Linked DNA regions of Homo sapiens: region 2 is linked to region 1. Evidence: promoter capture Hi-C in human tissues and cell types (Jung and others, 2019). All regions are on one chromosome and are shown on one strand. Each heading gives the region's core, a stretch centred on a gene start or on the middle of the fragment in contact. The rest is flanking DNA. Distances are from core to core; before and after follow the strand shown.

Region 1 (6,234 bases), core at 760-3,259:
AAATGTTTTGTTGCTGGATAAAGCCCAGAGAAGTTGAGCAACATTCCTGGAGTCACACAGCAAGTCAGCTGCAGAGTATGCAAATAAAAAGAAAAAAAAAACACCCTTCAAACCAGCCACATCTACCCTAACCCTTCCCCACGCCCTGTGTGGGGGTGGGAGAGAACTCACCACCTCCTTCCTAGAGCTCCTTCTCGCTAAGAAAATAAGAAGCCTAGAAGCCCAAGCGATTGTCCCGCCCCACCACGGGTAATTCTTGGGTTAAGTATTCTTCCGCTACCTGCGCAGGGGCACTGTCTGGTGAGGGCAGCCCGCACCAGCCCCAAACTAAAAAGTCCCGGACCCACCCCAGAACTAGGCTCTGAAGATGCTCCAGAGGGAATCCCCAACCTAGGCAGTCCCCTCGGCAGAGCTGCCTGCTTCACCACGGGTGAAAGGAAGGGATCTGCTAGAAAGACTCCCACCAGCCGATTCCTGAGCCCACCCCTGGGGAGAGGGCACAGGCTTGTAGCGCGGGTTCTTGAGGATGCCAGGGCAAGGAGTGCATAGCCCGGAAGCAACCTGAGTGTTCGGGGCATCACCGCTGGGGCCTGAAGAGGGGCTGACAACTCCCCCGGACTGTCCCACCGCAGCGTTCCGGACCTTGCCACCACCAACTGGAGAAGGCTCCCCCCTTCCTCCGCTGACAGATTCCCACATTTCCCCTCTCCACTCCGCACCGCGCCCAGGGGACTCCGGCAGGCAAATACTCGCTGCCATAAAAGTGAACTATGGAGGCTGAAGTCAGAAGCGCAGACAGCGTTACCCCCGAGGCGGGGGTTGAGGGCGGGGGGTGCTCGGGCCAGAGATAACCAACTCTTATAGCCACTTTGAAAACTATGATCCATACCCTAGGACTGCCCACACCTGTCTGGGCACCAGGGTCGGACCGGGCGGGGCAGCTTGCCCCTTAAACACACCTCTATCCCGCCCCGGCCACTCGCCCACCCATTCCCGCAGTCGTCCCCCGGCGCAGTGAGGGCGTGCGGCGGCGAGCGGGTACCTGCTTCCTGAGCGCCTCGAAGGCTGCGCTGATGGTGTGCACCCGCGTCCGCTCCCTGGCGTTCGCCAGGAGCCTCCGGGTCTGCTGCAGGGCTTTGATCTCGGAGGAGGCGGCAGTCGCTTCGCCCGGTCGTTTCCTAGGCGACGCGGAGGAATCCTGGTGGTTATTGTAAATTACGTGTGAAATTGACGAGTAGGAACTTTCCCCGGGGCGCGTCGGGGGCGCAGGGCGCACAGTGGACTCCGGGGGCGCTGGCGGTGCTGGGGGTGCTGACGGCGCGGGGCGCGCGGGCGGTGCGCACAGCAAGATGCGAGGACGCAGACCCGGCTCCCGGAAAGGCTGTGCCTCTGGGCCCCCAGGTGCCTGGCTCTGGGGCGCAGGAGGCGGCGGCGGCGGCGGCGTGGGGAGTCCTGGCCCCACTGCGCCTAGGGCGAAGCAGCGTTTCCGCGCGTCGGAGACCTCGGGCGCCCGAGAGCCCCCGCGCTCCCCGGCTGTGTCCGTGCCCCCTCTTGGGGGAACGGCCGGCGCCACTGGGACTGGCACCGGCACCGGTACCGGGACCGGCTGCAGCCGATGGGTCCTGTCCCGCAGCCCGTTGGTGGCTACGGCGCGGGGCTCGGGCGCTTCCAAGTCCAGTCGGAAAGTTTTATAGCCGTTCGCGCGCCGCGCCGGCTCCTTGCCTTTCCGCTTGAGCTTCTTAAGGCCGTTCAGCTCCTTCACGCACACGGTCTTCCACGGCCCGTCCTCGAGGACCGGGATGTGCTTCATGGCGCGGGCGGCGCGCGAGGCAGGGGCGTGGGGCTGCCCGGGCCGCCGCCGCGCTCAGCGCCGAGGAGTCTCTGGCTCTCCCGCTTCGCCCGCCCTCCCCCTCCCTCTCTCCCTTTCTCCCCCTCGCCCCGGGCAGCTGCGCCGCCGGCTTCGGGAAGCCGCCGGGCTGTCCGTTCCCGGAGCGCTCAGAGTGTCATCTGAAGTCGCTGCCTCCTTGCCAGCATTTCTGGAGAACGCCCGCTGCGCTCCATCTGTGTTTGTTTAGCCTCAGTTTACACAGAAGCCCAGTTCGCGAGATCAGTCAGCGCCGCCGCCCGGAGAGGAGGCAGCTCCCGCCGCCACCGCCTCCCCAGCCCGGGCCGCCCGAGCCGCGAGCGCCTTTAAAGAAACAGGAAGCATTTTTCAAAACAGCTGGGCCGCCGGCCGCCTCCTTTGTCCGCGGGCTCCCTACCTCCCCCCCACCCCCATCCCCTTGGCCCAGAACCTGCCTCCTCCGGCGCTCCCTCCCCGCCCCTACTCTAGTCGGGGGCGCTTCTATGTTCCCAGAGGACAGTCCGCTCCTGCACAACCGCCCCGAGCACGTGACTTATGGGCCCCCGGCCCTTCCCCAAATCACAGCGGGGCCTTTTCTCCCTGGCCTTGCCGGCCTCTCGGTGACGCAGCTCCGACCTTGCCCACCCGGCACCTTCCCGCCGCTCCCTCCGCCCCAACTCGCCACGAGACAGAAAACGCCGGGAGCTGGGACTTCTGCTGGGGGCCGATGGGGAAGGGGAGACTCCGGAGTTGCCCGGCGACCCACACCCGCCCGGCACGGCAACCCAGTCCACTCTCACTTGCTGGAGCGGGAAAGCAAGAGGAGCAGAGGGCTTAAGACAGGGAAACTGAGTTTCCGAAAGCTCCAAAGTCACGCAGCAAGTCACAGAGGCAGAGGAGGGTGGAAGCTTCGGATTTAGGCAGACCTAACGTCTGCGAGCCTCCGCAGTCACCTCACTCCAGGCGCCCTGCTAAACCGGGATTTACTCATCTGTGAAATGAGAAATTCGGAGAACAACGCCTAAGTCACAGCATTGCTCTGAGGAATTAAAGCACTAGGCACATAGGAACGGGTCGTCAAATGGTAGCTGTGGTTGTTGTTAGTATTATTTATTGAGGCAAAACAGCTACTTGAGGCAGATTTCCTGGGCTCAAACCCCAGCTCTGCCACTCACTGAATGACCTTGGGAAAGTCACTTAACCTCTCTGTGCCTCCCTTTCCTCACCTGTAAAACGAGGGTCATAATCGTACCTTCCTCCCCAGGCGGTGTGAAAAGCGTGTATGCGCAAGGCACTCAGAGCAGTGCCTGGCACCAGGTGAGAGCTTTGCAGGTGCCCACGGTTATTGGCAAGGGGCAGAGGTAGACCCCCCAGACCCTCAGTCATCAGTGCCATTCCACTGGAGATTCTGGAAAGAAGGGGTCAAACTAGTAGGCCCTCAGATGTCCTTGCCAGAGGACTGCTTCCCAGCCGCTCCCTTCCGAGGCTCAGAACAGGGCTTCACTCCTTGCTGGTCCCTTCTCTGTGACTGTTACTCCTTAAGGAAGGTGGACACTAAAAGCCAGCAAGGTGGTTTGGGAGAAGATGGACCCTTGACCCTGGCCTTGAACTCTGATGAAAACACAAGGGCTCACACAGAGTGGAGTGCTTCTCTCCTCCATGGGAGAATGCCTAGGGGTGGAGGAGGCAGATGGCACGCAGGGTGCTGGGAGGTGGGATGGGGATCTGGGCATAGCTTTGGGGGCAGGAGCATGGAGCTCCAGCCAGCAGCCCCGGTTGAGCCTTGGTTTGTCAACGACGGAACCCCATGACCACGAGCAAGACGTTTCCTCCCACCGTCACTCTTTTCTGTCTTTGAGGATATTTCCAGCCAACCTTCTCAGGGTAGCTGGGAAAGGACAAAGAGATGGATGTCAAAGGACTTTGACATAAGACTTCAAACATAGACACACACACACACACACACTGAGGCATGCAGTTTTCTGAATATAGTAAATGCAAAATCTCATTTTGCCACCAAGGTGGGTGCCAGCATCATAAAGCATGTGCTCCCGGAGACATCGTCTTCCCTGGACACCTGCATATTCCTGCACCTTATCTCTGTCCTGGAGACCAGGTGTGTGCTGCCAAAGAGGAGCCCTCATTCTCCTGTCGTTTCCCTGCTCAGCCTCGAACCCTAAAGTTCTGGCCTTTGCTCCCAGGTCTCCCACGGCTCCCCTTTGCAACGCACACTCTTCCTCACCCTTCGATGAACAGCTCCGGTCCCCCTCCTCCCGCGAACCTTCCCTGCTCACCATAGCCTCCAATTGCTCTTGCTGGCCTGTGTGCATGCTTGCTCAAAAGTCCTGCTGCAACTTAGCCTCCACTGCAGCCCTGTTGGAACTCCTGGGCTTGTGCGTTCCTCAAAGGCGCACTCTTGCCTTCCTCCCTGTCTCTAAAGGCTGGTGCTCAGGAAACCTCTGATAAGGACAAGCAACCCTCGTGCCCTTTACACTCCTGTCTGGAGACCCAGTCCTCCTGTGCATCCAGCCAGTCAGTGGCAGAGATGGAGGAAAAGTGACACTCCTTCTCCAGGGCTGCTCAGGTACTCTCTGAGCTTCAGTAGCTTCCTCTGTAAAACGGGAGTAATGATACCGTGCCTCACACGGCTGCAAGGACTCAAAGACGCAGCATGTGCAGCATGTGGCATGATGCCTAGAGTCTAGGGAATGGTGACCTTGGGCATCCTGGGTCAGCCAGCTGCTAAGGCCCCCTTGCATCCCAGACTTGGGTGTAGCTGAAGACTGGGGTGCCCGTGGCTGGTGAGGTTGTGTGAGAAGTCTCTAGCAGGACTGAATTTTGTCCTTAAAGAGGCCAAGCTGTGTCTGGGAAAATCACATCTTGGCTGAATACCAAAGGATCCACTCATACTGATCCTAAGCCCCGTGCCAACTTCCCCCCAAATAGAGGAGAAGGTCACCGAGATCCCATGGGGCAGGAGGAGGCGAAGGGATTGGATAGGAATGATCAGCCATGCAGGGTGGAGGTAGAGCAGGGCTCCAAGCCGGGCTACAGGCTTCCAGACAGGCTCTTTCTCCTCAACATGCTGCCTCTCCCGCTGGCCAAATGCCAGGGCCCCAGAGTTGGCAACAGGCAAGCCCAGAGGGATCTTCACCTTGTCACGTACCAGGTGTGTGACCTTGAGCAGCTCCCTGACTTCTCTGAGCCTCTGTTCACTATCTGGGCATCATCTCTTGAGTCTTGAGATGGAATGGTGTGTGTGGGAACAGGCGACAAATTGTAAAGAGGCCGATTGATGTGGAGTCCCTGCTATTGCCATTGTCAGCCTGCCAGGTTGCAGACCTTCCAGGTCCAGGCTGGCTGCCCACGCCCCACCAGCCTAGGGGTCAAACCTGTCTTCCAAGGGCTCTCACTTCTGCCTTCCTCAGCCTTGCTGAGAATTGGGGCAGAGACCAGCTGGGCAGCACCCCCTGGTGGTATCACACTATTGGGACTGCACACAACACTGCGGTCTCCCCATGAGGAACTTTTGCCCATTGTGGTGGCCCTGTAATGACAGTAATGTGGATTTCATGAATTCATAGACTTTCCAGGATAAAAAGTCTCCCAAGGCTCCATTTGGCCCTACTCACACCTTTGGATGGTACAATGCAGACGACACCCTATGCCCTTCATTAAAAACATCGCCCACTGAATTAACCATTTGAGGTGACCCTGGGATCGAGGGATGTTGTCACTGGAAGATTCCATACCCCTTTGGATGGCTGGTCTAGGGAAAAGGAATAAAGATAAAAAGGGAAGGCAAAGCAAGAGCTTAGGGGTCAGGCCACTGGGAACAGATATTAGAAAGTCAGGCAATCGTTAATTCTTTAATACTGCCATGCAAGGAGTGCATACAAACTCTATCTCACTAATCCTTATCATCACCCAGGGAAGTAAACCCACTCTACAGATAAGAAGACTAAGGCTCTTAGTGGGGAAAAAAATAATCTTGCCAACAGAAAGAACAGTCACTGGGTGCGGTGGCTCACGCCTGTAATCCCAACACTTTGGGAGGCCGAGGCTGGTGGTTCACAAGGTCAGGAGATCGAGACCATCCTGGCTAACACAATGAAACCCCGTCTCTGCTAAAAATACAAAAAAATTAGCCGGGCATGGTGGCGGGCGCCTGTAGTCCCAGCTACTCGGGAGGCTGAGGCAGGAGAATGGCGTGAACCCAGGAGGCGGAGCTTGCAGTGAGCCGAGATCACGCCACTGCACCCCAGCTTGGGCAACAGAGCGAGACTCCGTCTCAAAAAAAAAAAAAAAAAAAGAACAGTCATGGGATTTGAACCCAGGCCAACTGACCCCAAAACCCAAGCTCTGAACCACTGTGTCCGCTGCCTCCTGAG
Region 2 (6,117 bases), core at 1,411-3,910, 290 kb before region 1:
AGGCTTATAGTCAAGCAGGGTGCCCTAGGACAGGTTGAAGTCTCTCCCCATTTTAAATGGGGAGATGGTTTCTCATTGCAATCAGGTTTCTTTCTGTCTCCCTTTATTCTCATTGGAAGCCAATGCTTTTGATCCCTCTTATGCTACTGGGTATCCCTCCCACATAGCTGAGACCCATCCTTCTGTTCAGATGCTGAGGATGTGGTATGAGTTGGATGAGGAAAGCCGAAGGAAATACCAGAAGAAGGCGGCCGCTTGTCCTGACCCCAGTCTGTCTGTCTGGCGTCCTGACATCTACTTTGCATCAGTGTCAGAAACATTTGAAACAAAGGTTGATGACTACAGTCAAGAGTGGGCAGCTCAAACAGAGAAGAGTTATGAGAAATCAGAGCTTTCTCTCGACAGGTATTGACAGTGATTTGTTGCACAACATGTGCAGGAGAATCTGCCTCCTAGCCCCTGCCTCCTAGCCCCTGCCCTACTCACTCCGGAAGAGGGCTGCCTCCTGGGTTTGAGACTTCAGCTAGAGGGAGGGCAGTAAGACAGCCAGGGGCAACGCACAAGCCCCAAGGGCCCAGGAGTGAACAAGTGCAAGGGAGGCAGGAGTGGACACCCCCATCTGGGCCAAGATAGGGATAGTGGTCTGCTGGGAGGCTTGCAGGAAAGTCTGCTCTCTTGGGTTTGGTGTGGTGGGTGGGGCTGACTGAGAGTCAGGGAATCTGGTCACTGTTCACCTGCTGCCAACCGTGTGACCCAGGGCAGGTCATTCATGCCCAGGGACACCAGGTCTTAACTTCTCATGAGGCCTTGGATCCGATTACTCCAGTAATCCTTTGAGCTTTGGGTTCCCATTTGAAGGCCTCAGCTTGGACTAGGACAGACACACACACACACACACACACAGACACTGTAGCTCAGCGCGCGCGCGCACACACACACACACCTTTGAGCTTTGGGTTCCCATTTGAAGGCCTCAGCTTGGACTAGGACAGACACACACACACACACACAGACACTGTAGATCAGCACACACACACACACACACACAGACACTGTAGCTCAGCACACACACACACACACACAGACACTGTAGCTCAGCGCGCACACACACACACACACACACACACACACACACACACACACAGTGTAGCTCAGCGCTCCTAGTGGCTGTTCTTAACAGGGTCAGGCTTCATAGGAAAAATGGTTAGTAAATTACAGAATCGTGCGGCATGAATACTTCTGATGTGGTCTGCAGCCATTTGCACTAACTAAAAATATAAACACTCTCATCACCCCCATCCCCATAATGGCCTAGTGAACCTCTTTCTAATTTTTATAGCAGGAGGTTTAAACTGTCTCCAAATTGTCATAATTGAGAAGAAAGAATGGATAAAGGAAAAAGTGAATAATGAACCCAGAAATTCTCCTGCTTAGGGGGCTTGTGGTAACAGTCCCAGAGTGGATATGTGACATTCTGGGGGCAAACATGAGGAGTCCAAGCATGAATGTCTAGAGCTTCAGCCACCCAGCTGGGATCTGTGCTGTGTAATTTGAGGACATCTCAGGGTCACTGGTGGGAATTTGAAGATTAGAGGGATCTTTTGCCTAGGAAAAACGAGTCCAGAAAGAGGTAGAGGTTTCAGTTTTCTGGTTTCGGGCAGCATTGACAGTCTGTGGTGTCTGCTCCTGACCCCTGCCACAACCCCCACCCTGACCCCCCACCACCGTCTCTAGGTTGAGGACCTTGCTGCAGCTGAAGTGGCAGCGCTCACTGTGTGAGCCGGGCGAGGCTGTGGGCCTGCTGGCTGCCCAGAGCATCGGAGAGCCCTCCACCCAGATGACCCTCAACACCTTCCACTTTGCAGGCAGAGGCGAGATGAACGTCACCCTGGGCATTCCAAGGTGTGGGGCACAAGGGAGCACAGGGTGGGGTCTGTCCTAGCCTCTCCTGGAGAAGGGGCCATTTAATGAGAGGGGGTGAGTGAGTGTGTGTGAATGAGAGAGTGTGTCTGTGTGAGAGAGGGACAGGGTCTCATTAAAGTGGGGATCAGGGTTAGAATTTCCAGAGCCCAGCTGGTTTCTTTGGTGCCCAGGCCTGGTAGGATCTCCATTTATTCCTCTGCCAACTCCTGCATCCACGTTCCTGGGGATGCCTGTGAGACTGCACACTGCTGGGGGAAGGACTCAGGAACGTACATTGTTAACAAGCCCCACACAAGGTGCCTGGTTGCCCAACTCCAGGGGAGCCATTCACATAGAACGTGCCCCCACGTGGCCCTGGGCCCTGGCCCTTCAGGTAAATATATGTGCTGGACAAGGGGAATGAGTGTGGGGTCAGACCCATCTGCATTCAGTCCCTGGCCCTGCCTTTTTCTAGCAGAAAGACTCTGGACAGGTACCTCACTTTCCAAACCTCAGGGGGTCCTTCTGTGGAAGGCCAGAGGCTGGGACCCACTATACATCCAGGCAGTGAGGGCTGGCTGAGCTCAGCAGGAGCACTGTGGGTGCTAGTTGCCTTCCCTGCATCGCTTGTTCATTCAGTAAGCGTCAGCAGGCACCTGTTGTTTGCAAGGCACAGGTGATAGGAAACAAGAATCAGACAAAGCCCTGAGCACAAGGAGTGGGCCCTCCAGGGAGGAAACTGACAGGGGAGTCCCTTACTGTTGCACACGAGGCCAGAGCTGGGATTCTCTGATCTAGCATATTATCCCTGTGAGATCCCCAGGCCTCTCTCAGATTCCAAAAGAACTCTGACATCATTAGGAGAAGCTGCACCCAAACAGAAGGTCTGGTTGCCACTCATGATTGGATGTGCCCTTATTCTGTGACAGGTTGCGGGAGATTCTCATGGTGGCCAGCGCCAACATCAAGACACCCATGATGAGCGTGCCCGTGCTCAACACCAAGAAAGCCCTGAAGAGAGTGAAAAGCCTGAAGAAGCAACTCACCAGGGTGTGCTTGGGGGAGGTAACGTCTCTCCTTCCCAGGTTGCAGACGGGGTGAAGGCATGTTCCTATATCCTCCCCATGTGTGAAGAACAGGCTTTGCTTACTGCTCTGACCCTAGGCTCAGATTCCCACCAATGAGAGATAAGCTGTCTCTGCCAGGTGCTGAGCAGAGATGGATCAGGAAGCTTTTAAGAGAGTCATTAGTTCCACAGCATCCTCCTGTGCCTGAAAAATAAACCATTTCCTGAGTTTGCCTACCCGCTCTGCTGAGGCCACTCCTAGGAGGTTCAGGCCACTCTCTGGAGGTGACTGCAGGCTGTGGGCCCCCCAGCAGATCCACACCAGTATAGCTCACCAGGGTTTCTTTGGGGTTTGGCCTGTGGTCTCAGCTGCTATCTCTGTAAACCCTTGGGTCTCGTAACCCACTCACATTGCGCAGTCACCTAGGACCTGAACAAGTCAAGTTCTCTCTGTCCGTCTGGTTCCAGGTGTTGCAGAAAATTGACGTCCAGGAGTCCTTCTGTATGGAAGAAAAACAGAACAAATTCCAGGTGTACCAGCTGCGGTTTCAGTTCCTGCCACATGCATATTACCAGCAGGAGAAGTGCCTGAGACCCGAGGACATCCTGCGCTTCATGGAAACAAGGTCAGGGCTCAGGCTGTGATTGTCATTGACCTTGACCCAGAGAATGCGCTTGAACTGGGGCAGGAAGCACCTAGCCACAAGGCTCCTAGAGATTGAGTGCCTTTGCCCAAATGAGCCCTTCAAGGGAAGTGTTTAGGAAGCAGAGGGCCTTGCAGCCTGATCTGGAAACCTGACCACAGTCTGGCTTGTGGGTATGACTTTCTTAGCCACACGTCACTCCCTGAGCCCATTTCTTCTCTTGGGTTGACGTCAGGATTGTTGTCTTCTGGGGCTTGCAGGCATTAAGACATGGAAATGTGGGTGTGGTAAAGAGAAGGGAGCACCATCAAAGCGGTGCTTCTGTGGTGTCGGAGCAGCACATGCTGTTAATGTTTGCTAGGGTGTTACTGCAGGCAGTATAATGTGGTTCCTGATGCATTTAGATTCTGTGAATAATGAACAATGTGCGGGTGGCACGCTGCTGTTAGATCTCCATTCTATAACCAGGATTGCCTCCAGAGAAATTCGAGTTCCTGTCCCGAGTTCCTGTCCAGTAGGGAAAAGGAACTTTTGTCTCAAGTTCAAGTTACTGTTAGATATTTGAAAAGCAGAGGCCACAATGCTGAGTTCCGGGGAGCAGGAGGATGGGCTTTTTGGGGACTGGGGCAAGACTGGAAGAGCCCACGAAGCATTTTTGACTCACCAGCTAACCCTAGACGGTGAAGTGTGAACACAAAAAGGCTGCATAGCCCAGCAGGTGACAGGCCAGTGAAGCAGGCTTGGAGGCCCCCGGCAGACTGAAGAGTGTGGAACCTGTCTCAAGGGGCACCTGTTACTATGCAGGAATGGAGGCCCGGGGGGCCACATCTTTTGATTTAAAAAGAAAGAAAACAAGCTTCCCACCCCCTACGTTTTTTTCTTTCTTGGGTCACTTGTTTACTTGCCTTTGCTTTTATATAATTGAGGTCTCCTGACTTTTAAACATCAGCAACTAATTCATGTGTTTTTAAAAGCCCAGTAAGGCCCAGATGGTTCTCATCTGTTGCAGGATCTGGCCACAGGCCACTGACCACTGCCTCTAATCTAGACCAGTTCTTGGTCTTCTGGGAGCTGCTCAGATAGAGAAGCAATGACAGAGCAGAAGCAGAAAGCTCCCTGCACTCAGCCATCCCACAAACACATACTGAGCCATGCCCATTCGTCGCTGAGTCACGGGGGCAGGCGTGGGCAACACAGTACGACTTTTCTGCCCTCAGCCCTCTGCCCTCTCACCTTATGGGGCCTGGCCTCGAGCCAGCCCTCTGTGCAGGTGGCATTTGGGATGGTGGGTCTTGGGGTGGAGGAGCTTGGATGTGAACTCAGTCCTTTGGACGGGGGTCACTGGCCAGGTGCTTCCTGCCCCAGTTCACGAGCCCTGGGTGAAGTTGTTGTTGGCTGGGCCTCAGGAGCACCTGCGTTGGTGCCAGCCTGGGCTGAGAACATTCCTTCTGTCGAGTGGTCCTCTGTGCTATCTGGGCACTGGGCAGAGTGGCAGGGGAGTGCTGTGTGCACCCGCCTGCCAGCTCCTTAATTAACAGCGAGGAACATAACTACCAAGTGCAGGGGGCGTTTGTGCTGGCCTGGCAGTGGTTTTCTGGGAAATGGGAATTCAGATTTCATGGCCTCTAGAGAATAACTAAGGGTGGACGGAGTTAGATGTTTTGCCCCAGTTCTGTTCACAGGAGGCCCAGGCCAGCCCAGCAGGTAGGTCGGCATGAGGCTGGCGCCAGCCCATGCTGGGGTTCTTTTTACTTATATTACCTCATGGAATTGAAAATAGGAAATCACTTTTTAAGACTTCTTCCTGATGAGGGACAGCCCTGGCTTGTTCCCAGCCGTGAAGTACTTTTTCAACTCCTCCCTGTGTTTTGCTTGTGAACTTGAAAATCTGTGATAAATAAAGCCATGCGCAGTAGCTTTTGGTGGAGGTGGCCTCAAGGACTCAGCAGAATGGGGCTGAGGGGTTAGGCAGAGCTAAAAGATGGGGCAGTGGATGAGCTGGGTGCGGTCTGGACTCCCTTTGTCAGGCCCCAGGCAGCAGAGCAGCTGTGTTCAGGCCTCTGGCCGCCCACAGGAAATGGGAGGAAGTGTGAGTGCACTTTCAAAAGAGCAGCCAACCCCCAAGAAGCTTTTTCTCCTTCCTTTCTCCCATCCCTCCCCCTTCCTTCCTCTCTGCCACCCTCTTTTTCTTTCTCTTTGCCCCCACCCTCCCTTCTCCCAGCTGTGGAGTCATGAGACCCTTGACAGAGCCTGGAGAAAAACAGCACGAGACAGATGGTTCCCTAGGTAGAGATATACAAGCGTAGAAGGCCCCCCAGATCTCTGCACTGGCACCCATCACATGGGCTGTTTGTGTAAATTGTCTGGCAGGTGGCAGGGGAGATGAAGTGGAAAGAGCACTGAGCTAGGAGTTAGGGGCTGTAAGTTTTGGCCTCCGGTCCCCAGCCATGAAAAGACCCAGCTGACAGTCTGTAATTGTAGCTTCTGTGAATCTGACTTTCCAAA

What was found. Contacts are between HindIII fragments. The study calls those that stand out against the background at their distance.
Region 2: a fragment that was not itself captured here is called in contact with the fragment with the promoter of ATOH8 in region 1 in 3 of the 25 tissues and cell types used here (IMR-90 fibroblasts, dorsolateral prefrontal cortex and hippocampus).

The regions. Positions count from the first base shown.
Region 1 is chr2:85,749,766-85,755,999 of GRCh38, reverse strand. ATOH8 (atonal bHLH transcription factor 8) reads right to left here and starts at 2,009. Exons shown (of 3, transcript NM_032827.7): 1 at 1,043-2,009. The coding sequence starts at 1,810. RefSeq lists a silencer at 5,120-5,340. The HindIII fragment of the contact is 12,393 bases long and covers 256-6,234 here.
Region 2 is chr2:86,036,177-86,042,293 of GRCh38, reverse strand. POLR1A (RNA polymerase I subunit A) reads left to right here. Exons shown (of 34, transcript NM_015425.6): 24 at 191-405; 25 at 1,735-1,902; 26 at 2,832-2,967; 27 at 3,437-3,594. Among named protein-coding and RNA genes, the nearest start is that of POLR1A, 67 kb to the left of the region's middle. RefSeq lists an enhancer at 2,837-2,967 and a silencer at 5,596-5,645. The HindIII fragment of the contact is 4,889 bases long and covers 216-5,104 here.